Linked DNA regions of Homo sapiens: regions 2, 3 and 4 are each linked to region 1. Evidence: promoter capture Hi-C in 16 types of primary human blood cells and fetal thymus (Javierre and others, 2016). All regions are on one chromosome and are shown on one strand. Each heading gives the region's core, a stretch centred on a gene start or on the middle of the fragment in contact. The rest is flanking DNA. Distances are from core to core; before and after follow the strand shown. Region 1 holds the start of GZMK (granzyme K). Region 2 overlaps CDC20B (cell division cycle 20B). Region 3 overlaps CDC20B (cell division cycle 20B). Region 4 has its middle 35 kb from the start of ESM1.

Region 1 (3,385 bases), core at 244-2,743:
CTCATTCACATACAACTTAACATACAGGGAGGTCAGGCAGGTGATTTGGTCTAGGTCATAAGCTGTGTTGCCTTGGGCAAATTACTTAGCCTCTTGGAACTTATTTCTTCCATTGTAACATAAGTTGTCCTGCTTTCCTCAAAGACATAGACATGAAACCATAAATGATCATATAAAAAGAATTTTGGAAATAAGGTATTTTACTTATATATTATTAAGTTATAATGAATAATACATAATTATAGTATTATTTTTTATTATTCCTACTCTTTGTGCTAGAAAACAATTTGAAAGGAGTCTCTTGCAATCTGCCGAGCATAATAGCTCTGGATTTTAATTCTCCTTTCTAAAATGAATGGAAGATAAAATGCATACCTCTTAAAAGAAAGATCTGTTGATTTAATGCAAATTTTGATCAGTGTTACTAGGAAGTGATTGGCATTCTGATGCGTGATCTGTTTGTATTCATTTTATATTTGCACTGCTGATCAGTGTCTGGCACAAACAGAATCTTGTAGAATCTTGAGTCTAATACCTTTTGTATTGAAGGCCTGGCAATGCATTGTCATCTGTTCCTGGGAAGAATTACAAAATGCAGTCCTTTATTTTTAAAAGACATTATTATTAAGTCCCTGGAAAAACACATGGCCATTTTCAATTAAAAATGAGTAAAAGAGAGACTCTGAATCAAAAATAGTTGCCAATGTTCACCTTTAACAACATTATGAAATCTCACAAAAATGTAACTAAAATTTAACCAAATTTGGGCAAACTTAGAGAAACGACATGAGTAGGGATGTTTGCTGCAAAACATATGGTTTTCTCTGGTTGGTGCTCAGGCTTTAGCTAAGCCACATTGTGAAGTAACCATAATCTGTGCAAGGTCCATGTCTCTCTTCATCATAAATCTATGTCCAAATGAAAAAGAGAGAAGAATGAAATATGATAGGCACCATTTTGTGCCAGGAAAAATAGTAAGTATTGCTTGAGAGCAATGGACATCTTTGAACTCTGTCTGCAACTTCATTACATTCTTATGGCATGGATATTTTTCATTTATAAATATTATATACACATATAGTATAAATTTTCTTTATAGCATAAGTACTCTGATACAGGTATTAGAGATGGTATCTCCAGATATGAGTTCTTTATGGCATACATACCTCTCCCAAAAAAGTGCTAAAAGCAATTAGCCGGATGTGGTGGTGGGCGCCTGTAGTCCCAGCTACTCGGGAGGCTGAGGCAGGAGAATGGCGTGAACCCAGGAGGCAGAGCTTGCAGTGAGCCGAGATCGCGCCACTGCACTCCAGCCTGGGCGACAGAGAGAGACTCCGTCTCAAAACAAAACAAAACAAAAAAGTGCTAAAAGCACAGACCTGAAAGTCCCCAAACTGATACATAACGTTTACACCTAGGTGTGAAAAAAAATCTTACCCCTAGAGCACCTGTGGTGAGAAAGTCAAAACTTACAAGAACAAAACTCAGTCTTCAGAATCTTCTTCCTTCATCACAGGATCAACACATTTCATCTGGGCTTCTTAAATCTAAATCTTTAAAATGACTAAGTTTTCTTCCTTTTCTCTGTTTTTCCTAATAGTTGGGGCTTATATGACTCATGTGTGTAAGTATCTCCTATATCTACATGTAAACATTAAATGAATTTCTACTGACTATATTGTTATATTATAGATGAAAATTATTTTCACAATCATTCCTATCTTTCTGAACTGTAATGTATTATACAAATTTTTCATCAGTAAAATTATTGTAGCTTTTAGGTAGGGTTATTGTTGTTTTTTAAGCTTTGAAAATAATATAGTGACTGTCATTGGAAGAATTACATGAAACAGTAGTTTAGATCTTTTGTGTGAAACCTTTTGGTCTACTTTTGTAGGTTTCAATATGGAAATTATTGGAGGGAAAGAAGTGTCACCTCATTCCAGGCCATTTATGGCCTCCATCCAGTATGGCGGACATCACGTTTGTGGAGGTGTTCTGATTGATCCACAGTGGGTGCTGACAGCAGCCCACTGCCAATATCGGTGAGTCCTCCACACTTTTCCAGACATGTGTTTTTTCTGAAAGTTATTATAGGTACAAGAGAAGCTTACCTCTCCTGAATGAGAATTTGATCTACTGTTAGCTTCTGTGGTTACTGACCAACTGGTGGCGTTTATTTACCTTCTTCCACATCCACGCTTTCTGTCTTGGGTTTTCCTTTTCAGAGAGAACTGAGCTGCTTTTCCCAGGCAAGACATTAGACAAATTCAAGTCCTCTGTATAATGCAGGGAACACAGCAACAGTAATACTTGAAGCAGCAGTACTCTTGACCTTGTTAGATCACACTGCTCAAAAGGAAATCAGACAACCTGAGCTTGCTCTGTGCTCTGAGCTTCCCCATTTTACAAAGGGGTAATAATCATATCATACCTGCTTTGTGGGTTTTGAGAATTAAATAGTATCTGTTTAAGTATTTTAGCATGCTTGGCACATTTAGTAAGCACAAAAAAATTGCAGCTATTATCATTAGTATTATACGCATGAGAAGCCTACTTTGCCACTCCTAACAGTAGCTACCTAACAGTAGCTACTCACCACTTACAACTTTCCTAGGTGGAAAAAAACAAGTTATTGATGACTTCTAGAAAGAGAAAGATAATGAGAGAGTTATTTTCTAGGATACTTAGAATGAAAGCTTTTCTGAAGACAGAGTAAAACCTTCCAAAGTCCATTTCAGCCTAGGATTCTCTTACTTCAGCTAATAAAGCACAAAACCCCTCTTGGGATGCTGCAACCATCACAAAAGGAAATGCCAGTAGAAAACTAATTTGGTATTTGTTGTTTTGTTTGTTTGCTTGGGTTTTTGGTTTTGTTTTTTGTTTGTATATATGTTTCCTTATGTTTCTTACCTAATAAGCTGAAATGGAGCCTTCTCCTTTTCTTTCACTTAAAGATCTCTCTTAGCTGTAATGGTTTGCTCTCCAGGCATTGTCTATATCTAAACAGAACAATTGAATTGATTTGCTTTTCTATGCTTTGGGGGTTTTGTCTGATTACCCCATTTAAATGGAACTGTTTGATCACAAATTGGAAGTTTTGAAGCCTGCAAACTGGGAGATCTTCTGCTATCTCTAAATAGCAAGCCACTGATTTCCAATTTAATATGGTTACTTCATTTACACAGGGTTCTTGCCCTCATAGAAATCACACTCTCATCCCCATCACTTCTCTCTTCTCCAGGGCATTTGCCCCCTCGAGATCAGAGAGACAGAGTGGGGAACTGTCAGCGAATGTTCATTTGATGCAAAATATGCACATCTTCAAATATGCTCATAATACACATTCAAATGGTCTATAACCTCCCCAGACACAGAGCTTGAC
Region 2 (3,385 bases), core at 452-2,951, 120 kb after region 1:
AAGGGAAATATTTAAAAGACCATCATATAGAGCAATAATTCAACTTTTCCTAAGAGACCCCAAAGGACAGATCACATCATCAAATAGTTGGAAATGATGACAGCAAGAGATCCTTAGGCTAAGAGGAAGCATACCGTAATAAGTATAATTTCATTATATTTTTAACCTTTACCTGTTTGTAAAGATAAAATAGTTATTCTCATTTTCACTTTTTTAATTAATCCCAACTCAACATTTTCTCATATATTTGGGGGATATCTTCTTTCTTTTACAAAGTGGCTCTATTCATATCCTTCAATTATTCATTTTTTATCAGGAATGCATCATTTTCTTATTGATTGGTAAGAGAACTAAGCAACTCTTCCCTTACATTTGCAACTAAGTTGTCTCAGCTTCTCTAGATGTGGGATCTTCAGTTTTTTTCTCTTTACCTACCTGCCCTTTTGAGGCAACACTTTCTTTCCAGTCTCTGTCCATTGCATGAGGTGCCTTGCAAAAATGGAGAGCAGAGTTACTTGTTTCAGAAATTCCTTTGCTGGGGGTCTTCAGTTGTTCTTTGCGGGATCCTACAAGAAAGACATTTATCTTTGAATTTGGTTTTTAAAACAAGATAATCACTTTGATTGTAGGTCTGGCTGTGGCATCTTTCACAGAAGGACAGAGTGAAAAAGCCCAGGCTCTCGTCACTCCAAAGTCCATTGCAGAGAGCAGGACAGAGTGAAAAAGCCCAGGCTCTCGTCGCTCCAAAGTCCATTGCAGAGAGCAGTACAGAATCCTATCCAGACTGCTGACTTCATAAGGTTGTCACTCAATGAGAAAGCTGTCTCAGTGGCCTCTAGAGCAGGGAAGAGGTGCCAAGATTAAAGACCTGACTTCATTTGCTGCAGCAGCAGTGTGAATGCTTTATCTCTGTATGGAAAAAAAAAAAAAAAAACCAGATTTGCACATTTGAAGAATGGATAGAAACAGTTCCATAGTTTTAAATGATAGTGGAAAGAGTATCTGGTTTGCCCGAGCTATGGTCATCCTGCAAGGAAAACATTATGGGATGCTTGCTTTGCCAGCATTGACATTCACTACATAATCATGAGCAAATCACTTTGCCTCTCTCCCCCTTTCTATTGCAGAAAGATGTTTTAAAGATAGTTTAAGATGGCATCAGTGAAATACTTTCTAAGTTAAAGTAATAGAAGGGTCAATGTTACTTGCATCAATATTATTCCTATCTACTCTCTTCTCAAGATTGAGAAAGCCCTTTACCAGACTTTCAACTGCCCTGGAAACCTGTCAAGTCATTCTCTAAAACTAAATATCTGCCATATCACTTGTTCATCACAGGAGCCAAGGGACCATTGGAAAATCTTAGCCTTTTGCCATGTGACAATCTCTTCTTCATTTGGACAACCATGAGCTTGATAAATTCTCACTAATGTTCCTAGAGCCTAGTACCTTAAGTACTGGGACATTCAAAATTTAAGCAATATATATTACATTTAGGGAGAAGAAGGATAAAAATATGAAATGCTGGTCAAAGTTTTAGATCTTGCTCTTTGTCCTGAGAAATTATGCATGCTTGCTTTCTTGTGCTATTTGTAAAAGTGTACAGGGGAGAAAAAGCCAGCTCTCAGAACTTCAAATGAGAAAGAAAAAGTTGCAGTCAGAGGCTAGTACTGACAATCATCACAGTTATATACAAAGAGGTCAGGTCCATCAGCCTAAGAAAGAAGGGACCTCTCAGGTTCTGTCCACAGAGCATGACTGAAAATGAACCTCTCTGTAAATGTCCCTTTGGAATGGGAGGATCTTCAGTATCTGCTCTTCTAAAACAAAAAGAAAGAAACCCCACTAGCAAAGCACTGAGAAACCAGTAGATCTGATTAATCCCTAGTATTAACTTCAGTAGAAAATAAAATGGTCTTTCTTGTAAAATCCTTTTTGTTAATATCTGATTTCTGAATTTCTCACACAATGTCATACTTTTTTAAAAAATCAATAAATTAATTAAGAACCTAGAAAGTAAAAGGGAGCCCCTAATTTTAGCCAGAAATTCTTCCAAAAACAATCAGCATCAAAACTGTCCCTCAATTGCAATGAGATACAAAAGATTTCTTTCAGAAGATAGTCATAACAATGTTTTTCACAACCCTTTATCTCCTACTGCTTCCCTCCTCGGTTATTAAATACTTTCAGTATTAAAGCCTGTCGTTACATGGGAATTTCATTGATTTGAAAAAAATCTGGGCTCCCTTTCAATCTGCAGAACTGCAATGCATCATCATGTCTGATGTCATTGAAAAGAGTTGGCACTTCTATTAACATTTGTCTTAATAAATACGCTGATAGTCAAAAGAATTATGTTGCCTAGGATTCTCAAAAGAAAGAATGGGAATTACATCAGCTGATGATAGGTGGCAAATTTTGCTTCTGAAGGATGGGAATGAAAATGTCTGTGCCCAAATGAGAATTACATATTTCAGAAAGAGAGTTTGTGTTTCGGGGCTCTGGCAGGTTGATCATGGATCCTGCCCATCACACTGGTGGTTTGGAGCCCACTCCCCCATCTCTGCCCCAACATAGGCATCAGACTGTCTCTCACTCTCCTTTCCTTCCCTCTTCTTCTTCCCTACTACTCTTGGAGGTTCTTCTTTCTTCTTTCTTCCTCCTCCTCCTCCTCTGTCTCCTCCTCTCTTCTCTCTTTCTCTTTGTCTCTCTCCCCCCATCCATCCCCTCATCCCTCTCTCTTGCTTCCTTCCTCTTACTTTCTCTTCCTCTCATTCTCTCCTGCTTCTGTCTTTTTCTTCCATTTCACATCTGATTATTCCATTACTAACGCATAATTTTTTCTGACTCTGTATACCAGTAACCTTACCAGTCATTAAAATTCTATACTTTGCAAAACAAAAGCACATATATATGTGTGTATGTGTACATATACATATATACATATACATTCATACAATCTTTACAAAAGTAATCATCTAACCAATGCAAGTCTCAAAAACATATTAAAATTAAGCTAAATTTTGCCTGAGGATGTAGGATGAGTCCCTACATCTCAAACTGCAACCTAACTTGGGATGTAAACTAACTGAAAGCCTAACTTAGCTGAGTCTCCGCCAATCACAGAAGCTGAGCTTCAGTCAATCACAGGCGGCCAACTAATCAGACCACGTGCAAATAAGGCGAACTGAGCTGTAGCCAATCAGGCCGGCTCCTACGCACTTCCAATTCCTATCCATAAATGCTGCCCGCCCCCACATGGAGTGGCTCTCTGGTTGCCCATTGGCCAACGGTTCTTTGCACAATTAACTTTGTAAAATTTAATTTGTCTAAAGTTTTGTTTTTGTTTTTGTTTTTAAACACATACAGTACCTTTCCTTTGTTT
Region 3 (3,385 bases), core at 331-2,830, 100 kb after region 1:
GTCGCATTGTTTAAAACTATGCAATGCTGAACAGCATTGTGATTAACAATATGGGCTCTGGAGCCAGACCAGCTGGGTTATTCCAACTCCATCACTTACTAACCATGTGACTTCAGGCTAGTGTCTTAGTTTAATTTGAAAAAACAAAATTGAGGATAAGAGACCACCTTATCATGTTACTGCAGTGATTAAAATGAAATTACACACATAAAAAGTATAGCACAGTGCCTGGCACAGAGTAGTCTGAAAATGTTAGCTGCTATTATTATAAGAAAGGATCTGCTCATTTTCCTCGTGGATAATGAAACTAAATTTTAACAATGCAGATTAGAAAAGGAGCTTGAGTACATAATTGACTGCAATAACTAAGTTGTTTTAAGACCGGCCAAAAACACAAGATATTCAAGTCTCAAGTTTACATCAGATTACTTAAATACATTTTAAAAGTCTTTGGGATGGCCAGGCGCGGTGGCTCACACCTGTAATCCCAGCACTTTGGCAGGCCGAGGCAGGTGGATCACAAGGTCAGGAGTTCAAGACCATCCTGGCCACCATAGTGAAACCCCATCTCTACTAAAAATACAAAAATTACCCAGGCATGGTGGTGGGCGCCTGTAGTCCCAGCTACTCGGGAGGTGGAGGTTGCAGTGAGCTGAGATCACGCCACTGAACTCCAGCCTAGGTGACAGAGTGAGATTCCATGTCAAAAAAAAAAAAAAAAAAAAACAGTCTTTGGGATTTATCTAACTTAAGTCTACCTTAACCTTAAGAACTACAATATGAAAATGAATGGCTATGATTAAAAGCAATATATATTTAGACCAGTTATGTAGGCTCATAGGAAAAAGTCCCTTAATTTTTCTGGTTAAAAAGAAGCAGTTAAACTAAATCACTAGTTCTCAAAGGGATGTATCATCAGCATCACTTGGGAAATGAGAAATGCCAATTATCAGCCCCTCAAGACCTAATGAATCTGAAGTCCCTCAAGTGAAGCCAGCAATCTGCATTTTGAGGAGCTCTCCAGGTGATTCTGATACATGTTCTAGTTTGAGAACTACTGAACAGGATAATCTATGAGGTTCCTTCTGCTCTAATTTCTGTGGGTCTATGAATTGGAAATGTGTCCCAGAGAGCTTAACATATTCCATAGTATAGATACTGACAGCAATAAATACTTGATTTCAGCAAAATATCCCTTTAGTACCTATTACTTAGCACAGAGAAACCTTTTGCTTGAAGGGATTTTCACATTTTATCTGAACAATTTAGTGCATCCCATGCAGAAGGCACACATGATACATGTGGCCACCAAGACACTTACATGACCAGCAGATCTGAATACCTGAGAGGGTGGGATCATACCTGATATTAAGTCCAATGGCCTATTTTGTTTTATTTTTGATTGGTTTAGGTTTTGAATATTACAACTGTTTACTCAGGCCCCATAATCAATTGTTAATACAAACATAACTGTCTCCAACAAGACGCTTCTTACCTGCTGAGGATAAAGTGATTCCAGCTCAGAGCCCCAACTACTGACAAATGACCAAGCATATTTCTCAGCCGCTTTTTAGTTACCACATCCCATAACTGAAAAAATGAACAAGGAGAGTTATGTAGCATTGGAGTTTTCACAGCCCACTGTCTTCTCAAAGGCCTGAGAGCCAATTACTGCTGATATTGTTAGTTTTTGTACTAAGTGAAAACCCAGCACATCTAGCCAGCAGTTCTCAATTCTGACTGTGTATTAGGATCAGCTGGGGAGTCTATAACACTATGGATGCTGATTTAGTTGGTAGAGTAGAGCCTGGGGATATATGGCAGTTGTTTTAAAGCTCCCCAGGTGAATTCAATGTGCAGCCAAGGGTTGAGAATTATTACCACATTTCTAGCTCCTTCTAAATTGTGAGAATTCCAAATCTGGAAATCTACCCACAGTTACCAACAAATGTATTAATAAGATGTGGGTACCCGGACACTTCCTAGAATCAGTAATTCCACTTACTGCTAAGAGACTCCCTTCCTGCGAGCTACAGATAATATTCTGATCCACATGGGGAATGACAACTTTGGTGTAAGAAGAAATCATGACATAGACTTCACAGCATTCATTATCATTGCAGAGATGAGAAAGCAGTGAGAGAGCCATCTGTGGCCCTCCTAAGTCATTTGCACATGAGTGATATTGTTTATTCTATTGGTAATAAACAATAATAATGATACATGAGAAATCAGATAGATTGATGGAAATTTGATAAATCCCCATCTCAAGGAGCCTATCAGAAAAAAAAATTCACTCATTTTCTATAACTGTACTCTTAATCACGGCTTCAGGTGAAAAGGAGAACTGAAAGTATCTTCCTCTCTCCAAAGCTCCAAAACTGGAGATTCTACAAGCCCAACTTTAGTTTCAGAGAAAATATATTTTTAAATATGACAGAAAGATTGTGGTGGAAACTAACCAGAGTATCCTTACGTTTTCATTAAAAACCATTCAGTAAAAAAAAAAAAAAAAAAGCGGAATGTCATCTCCTTTTATTCCCCATACTTCAAGAGCCACACCTAGTTTCTCTATTTTACATTAACTTGTTATTAAAAGTCAATTATAGTGTAATAATACACAGAGAACATGATGAGAAAAAAAAAAACTGGCCAGTACTTGCACTTCTCCCTCGCTGGTGCCAACTGCCAGGCAAGTTCCCTCTTTTATCCAGGACACAGAAGAGATATAGTTACAAGTGAGACTTAAGTCTATGTTTTCAATCCCATTGTGGTTCTCCCCATTCCAGATGTATACAGCAGAGCCCAGGGCTATGGCAACAAGATTCTGAAAACTCCAATCTAGGATATTCAGATCTATAAGAAAAGCACTTCAAATTAGTATAATTATACAGCCACATGAAAACATGTTCAAATAAACAACTTTATAGGTAGGGGGAAAAGAATAATACCATCCCCATGGTTAGCTGGAAAATGGAAACATGGAACCATGAAAATCCTTAAAAGTTCAAAAATGAAAAGTGGAATAGAATCTAGTGTCAACACTCACAGTCTAATAAGCAATAATGCTTATTATTTACACTGAAATATATTTATTTAGAGCCATTTAAAGAACTTGGCAGATTCATCTACCATTATTAGTACATGTAGACTTCGTTTAACGGATCAGTAAAAGTTAAAAGCATATAATTCTTATGGAGACACTCTTGGACCTAGGATATCTATATGGGAGATGCCACCATCATTTCTAACCAAAAACACCACCCAGCTAGAAGAGGTGGTGGTTCATGTATGATACCTACACGTTCTCAACAGTATTCTATAGCTTATACTAATAAGAAACCTTTGACTGCTAAGAGAAAACATATTTGTATGACCATTTATT
Region 4 (3,385 bases), core at 456-2,955, 74 kb before region 1:
GAAACAGAAAACCAATTCACTTATACGTGGGAACTAAATGATAAGAACTTATGAACACAAAGAAGGACACAACAGACGCTAGGGCCTACTTGAGGGTGGAGGGTGAGAGGAAGGAAAGGAACAGAAAAGATAACTATCCAATATTAGATTTAGTACCTGGGTGATGAAATAATCCGTCAACAAACCACCATTATATGAGTTTACCTACATAACAAACCTGCACATGTACCCCGGAAACTAAAATAAAAGTTAAAAAAAATAAAAATAACAAGAATTTAAAAGTTGAACTCAAAAGAAAGATCTGCTTGGATGTATATATGTAAATATATGTCTATATAAATGTACATAATAATGGTGTGCTGGATGCAGCTTCTACTGGCTCAAGAAGGCCAAGGTATGTGTCTCTTCCCAGCCCTAAGTCCAGTGGCATACAGGTAGCTGTAATCATCCATGGTAGAATATTTATACCATAGAAATCATCATACAAAACTAGTTGGGGATTTTTCCCCCTGAGAACTGGTTGTTAGACATTTACCAGCACGCACTGAGTGTATATGCACATATGTACACCAGAGAATCTAGGTATGTGTGTGTGTGTGTGTGTGTGTGTATATATATTCATATTCATATATGTATATATACAGATATATGTTTTGATGGCTAAGTAGAGTGAGAACAGATGAAGACTATGAGACTTCATCATCAAGGAAACAATGTGAGCAGTGACAAGGAGAGTGCTGATGTCCAGTGTGTACTTTAGGAACACAGAATCATGTGTTGCAGCCAGGGTGAAAAGTGTGTGAGGAAGAGAGTAGGAGGTAGGTCTGGAAAGACTTCTAGGGGACTGAATGTAAAAGATTTTAAGCTTCACTAAGAATACTGCAAGTACTGGTGGTTCATTAGAGACTTTAGCAGCAGAAATAGCATAATCTGTTGTGCATTTTGTAAAAATGAAGAAGAAATGGAAAGGCTAGAGATGGGAAGCAGTAAAGCCAGTTGGGAAGTGATTTCCATTGTCTGTAACAGAAATGAGAGAATTGAACCATGGCAGTAGCAGCAGGGAAGAAGAAAGGTTGAAAGTTGAGAGTGATTTTAGACTTAGAATCAACAAGATTTGATAATTATTTGATGTGTTGAGGGAGAAAGAGAAGTAAGAAAAAAAGGGATGGAGAATGTGAGAGATGCCTGGCTTGGGAAGTGAGATCAAAAAATTAGATCAGAGCCTGGCACGGTGGCTCACACCTGTAATCCCAGCACTTGGGAGGCCGAGGTGAGTGGATCATTTGAGGTCAGGAGTTCGAGACCAGCCTGGCCAACATGGTGAAACTCTGCCTCTACTAAAAATTAGCCAGGGGTGGTGGCAGGTGCCTGTCGTCCCAGCTACTTGGGAGGCTGAGGCAGGAGAATCACTTGAACCCAGGAGGCGGAGGTTGCAGAGAGCCAAGATCATGCCACTGGACTCCAGCCTGGGTGACCGAGCAAGACTCCATCTCAAAAAAAAAAAAAATTCAGCTTGGATATAAATAATGACTGATATGGATTGCGGTATTTAAACATCCACCCTAGATCACACAATTGTGTAACTCTATTTTCAACACTATATCAGTTAAAAGCAACACCTAAAGTCCATGTACAGAAAGATCTCAAGTAGGAGTTATTCCTCAATTGACAACCTGAAGGGCCGGACAATTGAGTGTTTCCTGTGTGAGGGTTTTGTCAGATGAATGAAGCAAAAAGCCAGAGGTCCAAACAAATTTGAGAAATTGGCAAGAGCTGTTTTGTTTTGTTTTGATGTGATTTTCAAAATTGATGTACCATGAAATCCCAGATGAATAAGGAAGGAAGTGGAGATGTGAAGAGGCCAGTGGATTGGAAACTGAAGGTCCCGATATGGCTTAAGAGTATTCATGATGTGATTAATTGGGCAGATTGAAAGGAGGACAGACTGTAGTCAGACAGCAAATTATCTGAATTTGTGATTTGGAAGGTAACACAGTTATGAGCAATTTTGGTCCAAAGTAGACTGTGGATTTACTGGGTAAAAAGAAGAGAAGGCATTGTAGATAAGACGGTGGTGGCTGTGAGAGGTCCCAGTGTTGGATGGATTGTCCACAAGGTTATAAAGTGACCCAGGGTGACAATTTAACAGGATACCTGTGAGCCAAGAGTCCAAGTCATCAGCAATGGAGGGGAAGACAGCCGGAGGCTGGTAGGTGACCAGTAAGGAGGAAGAAATGGTAGCATAGTTGAATGACAGGAACCTTGAAGGCCCAGGGTTTTTGCTCCCATTTTGCAAGCAGAAGAAGAGTGTTTTCTGGCATCAGATTGCCAAGATCGGAGGTGCCTAGAACCCCTAAATTTCCCAGCCTGTAGAATTTTAAATCAATCTCCGAGATGTCTGCCCTTTCAAAATCACATCTTTGCTTTTTAGGACACTGCTTCTGGTTGTACTGGGTTCACTCAGACATAATATTAGCTCCTTTGCTGAGTTCCACCTAGTAAAACCTCACTCATCCTAGGGGCTTGAGAGCAAGGTAGACTTTGCTGAAGCTTTTGGGTTTGTTTGAAGGTGATGGAAAACACATTTGCAATGGAACAACACAAACAACTGCAAATTAAATCACAACCATCACTGTCTTTGAAATGTTCCCAGCTAACCCACCAGTGAGTGGTTTGAGCTTCATGACTGGTCACATTACCTGAACCCAGCCTTGCTACATCTTGCTGGTTCCTCTCTTCCTCTGCTGTCTCATCTTTCCCACCCTATTCAGTCTACGAAATGGAACATTATTTTAATTGCCTAGATAAACTTGCTAACATCTCCGTTTCTAAAATGCTTAGATCTTGGTGTATAACTGACCTAGGAAGTTCTAGCCTAGAGGTCATTATGTAAGTAGGAACTGTTCACATGAAGAACAGAATGCCGGAAGTAACAGGCTGTATAGACAGCTGGAGAAGCAGCACTGTATCACTAGGCTGAGATCAAATGACCTTCTCTCTTCCCAAGAGAGAGACAAATTCCCTTCCTTCTTCATGCAGAATTCTTCTTCTCTCTTTCGTAAAGCCTTGGTGTCAGTACCTCTAGGCTGTGGGGATCCACTATTTTTTGCTTCTTCCCTAAGGGAAATTCTGCTGTCAGCTATTAAAATAGTAATAATGTGTTTTACACCAGTCCTCCTCTTTACTGTCTCTTACCACTTTTTCATCCAAGTCAGGTTTGCATCAGATGTAGTGGGGGAAATCCTCCAGCGCCGGCAATCAGCATGCTCAGGCCATGCCATGGACTAGAGAGAAGCCAAGGTATACTAGAATGGTCACAAGGCCTTTGAAAGCCTGTAGTCATTCTGCCTTTTTAAGTGAAAAAGGCTACAAATGGCAATTATCT

What was found. The method cuts DNA at HindIII sites, captures the fragments that hold promoters and counts their contacts. A CHiCAGO score of 5 or more calls a contact.
Region 2: a fragment that was not itself captured here is called in contact with the fragment with the promoter of GZMK in region 1 in 4 of 17 cell types (total CD8 T cells, activated CD4 T cells, naive CD8 T cells and 1 more); the score reaches 7.8 in total CD8 T cells.
Region 3: a fragment that was not itself captured here is called in contact with the fragment with the promoter of GZMK in region 1 in 6 of 17 cell types (total CD8 T cells, activated CD4 T cells, naive CD8 T cells and 3 more); the score reaches 7.6 in total CD8 T cells.
Region 4: a fragment that was not itself captured here is called in contact with the fragment with the promoter of GZMK in region 1 in 1 of 17 cell types (total CD8 T cells); the score reaches 5.0 in total CD8 T cells.

What each region holds. Positions count from the first base shown.
Region 1 is chr5:55,022,763-55,026,147 of GRCh38, forward strand. It overlaps GZMK (granzyme K), which reads left to right and starts at 1,494. Exons shown (of 5, transcript NM_002104.3): 1 at 1,494-1,624; 2 at 1,898-2,045. The coding sequence starts at 1,561. It overlaps LOC102467081 (a long non-coding RNA gene), which reads right to left and starts at 1,407. Exons shown (of 3, transcript NR_104662.1): 1 at 1,167-1,407. The HindIII fragment of the contact is 1,874 bases long and covers 1-1,803 here.
Region 2 is chr5:55,143,078-55,146,462 of GRCh38, forward strand. CDC20B (cell division cycle 20B) reads right to left here. Exons shown (of 12, transcript NM_001170402.1): 4 at 436-566. Among named protein-coding and RNA genes, the nearest start is that of GPX8, 15 kb to the right of the region's middle. The HindIII fragment of the contact is 3,795 bases long and covers 1-3,385 here.
Region 3 is chr5:55,125,762-55,129,146 of GRCh38, forward strand. CDC20B (cell division cycle 20B) reads right to left here. Exons shown (of 12, transcript NM_001170402.1): 7 at 2,660-2,856; 8 at 1,496-1,590. Among named protein-coding and RNA genes, the nearest start is that of GZMA, 25 kb to the left of the region's middle. The HindIII fragment of the contact is 5,522 bases long and covers 1-3,385 here.
Region 4 is chr5:54,948,418-54,951,802 of GRCh38, forward strand. No RefSeq gene overlaps it. Among named protein-coding and RNA genes, the nearest start is that of ESM1, 35 kb to the right of the region's middle. The HindIII fragment of the contact is 1,685 bases long and covers 864-2,548 here.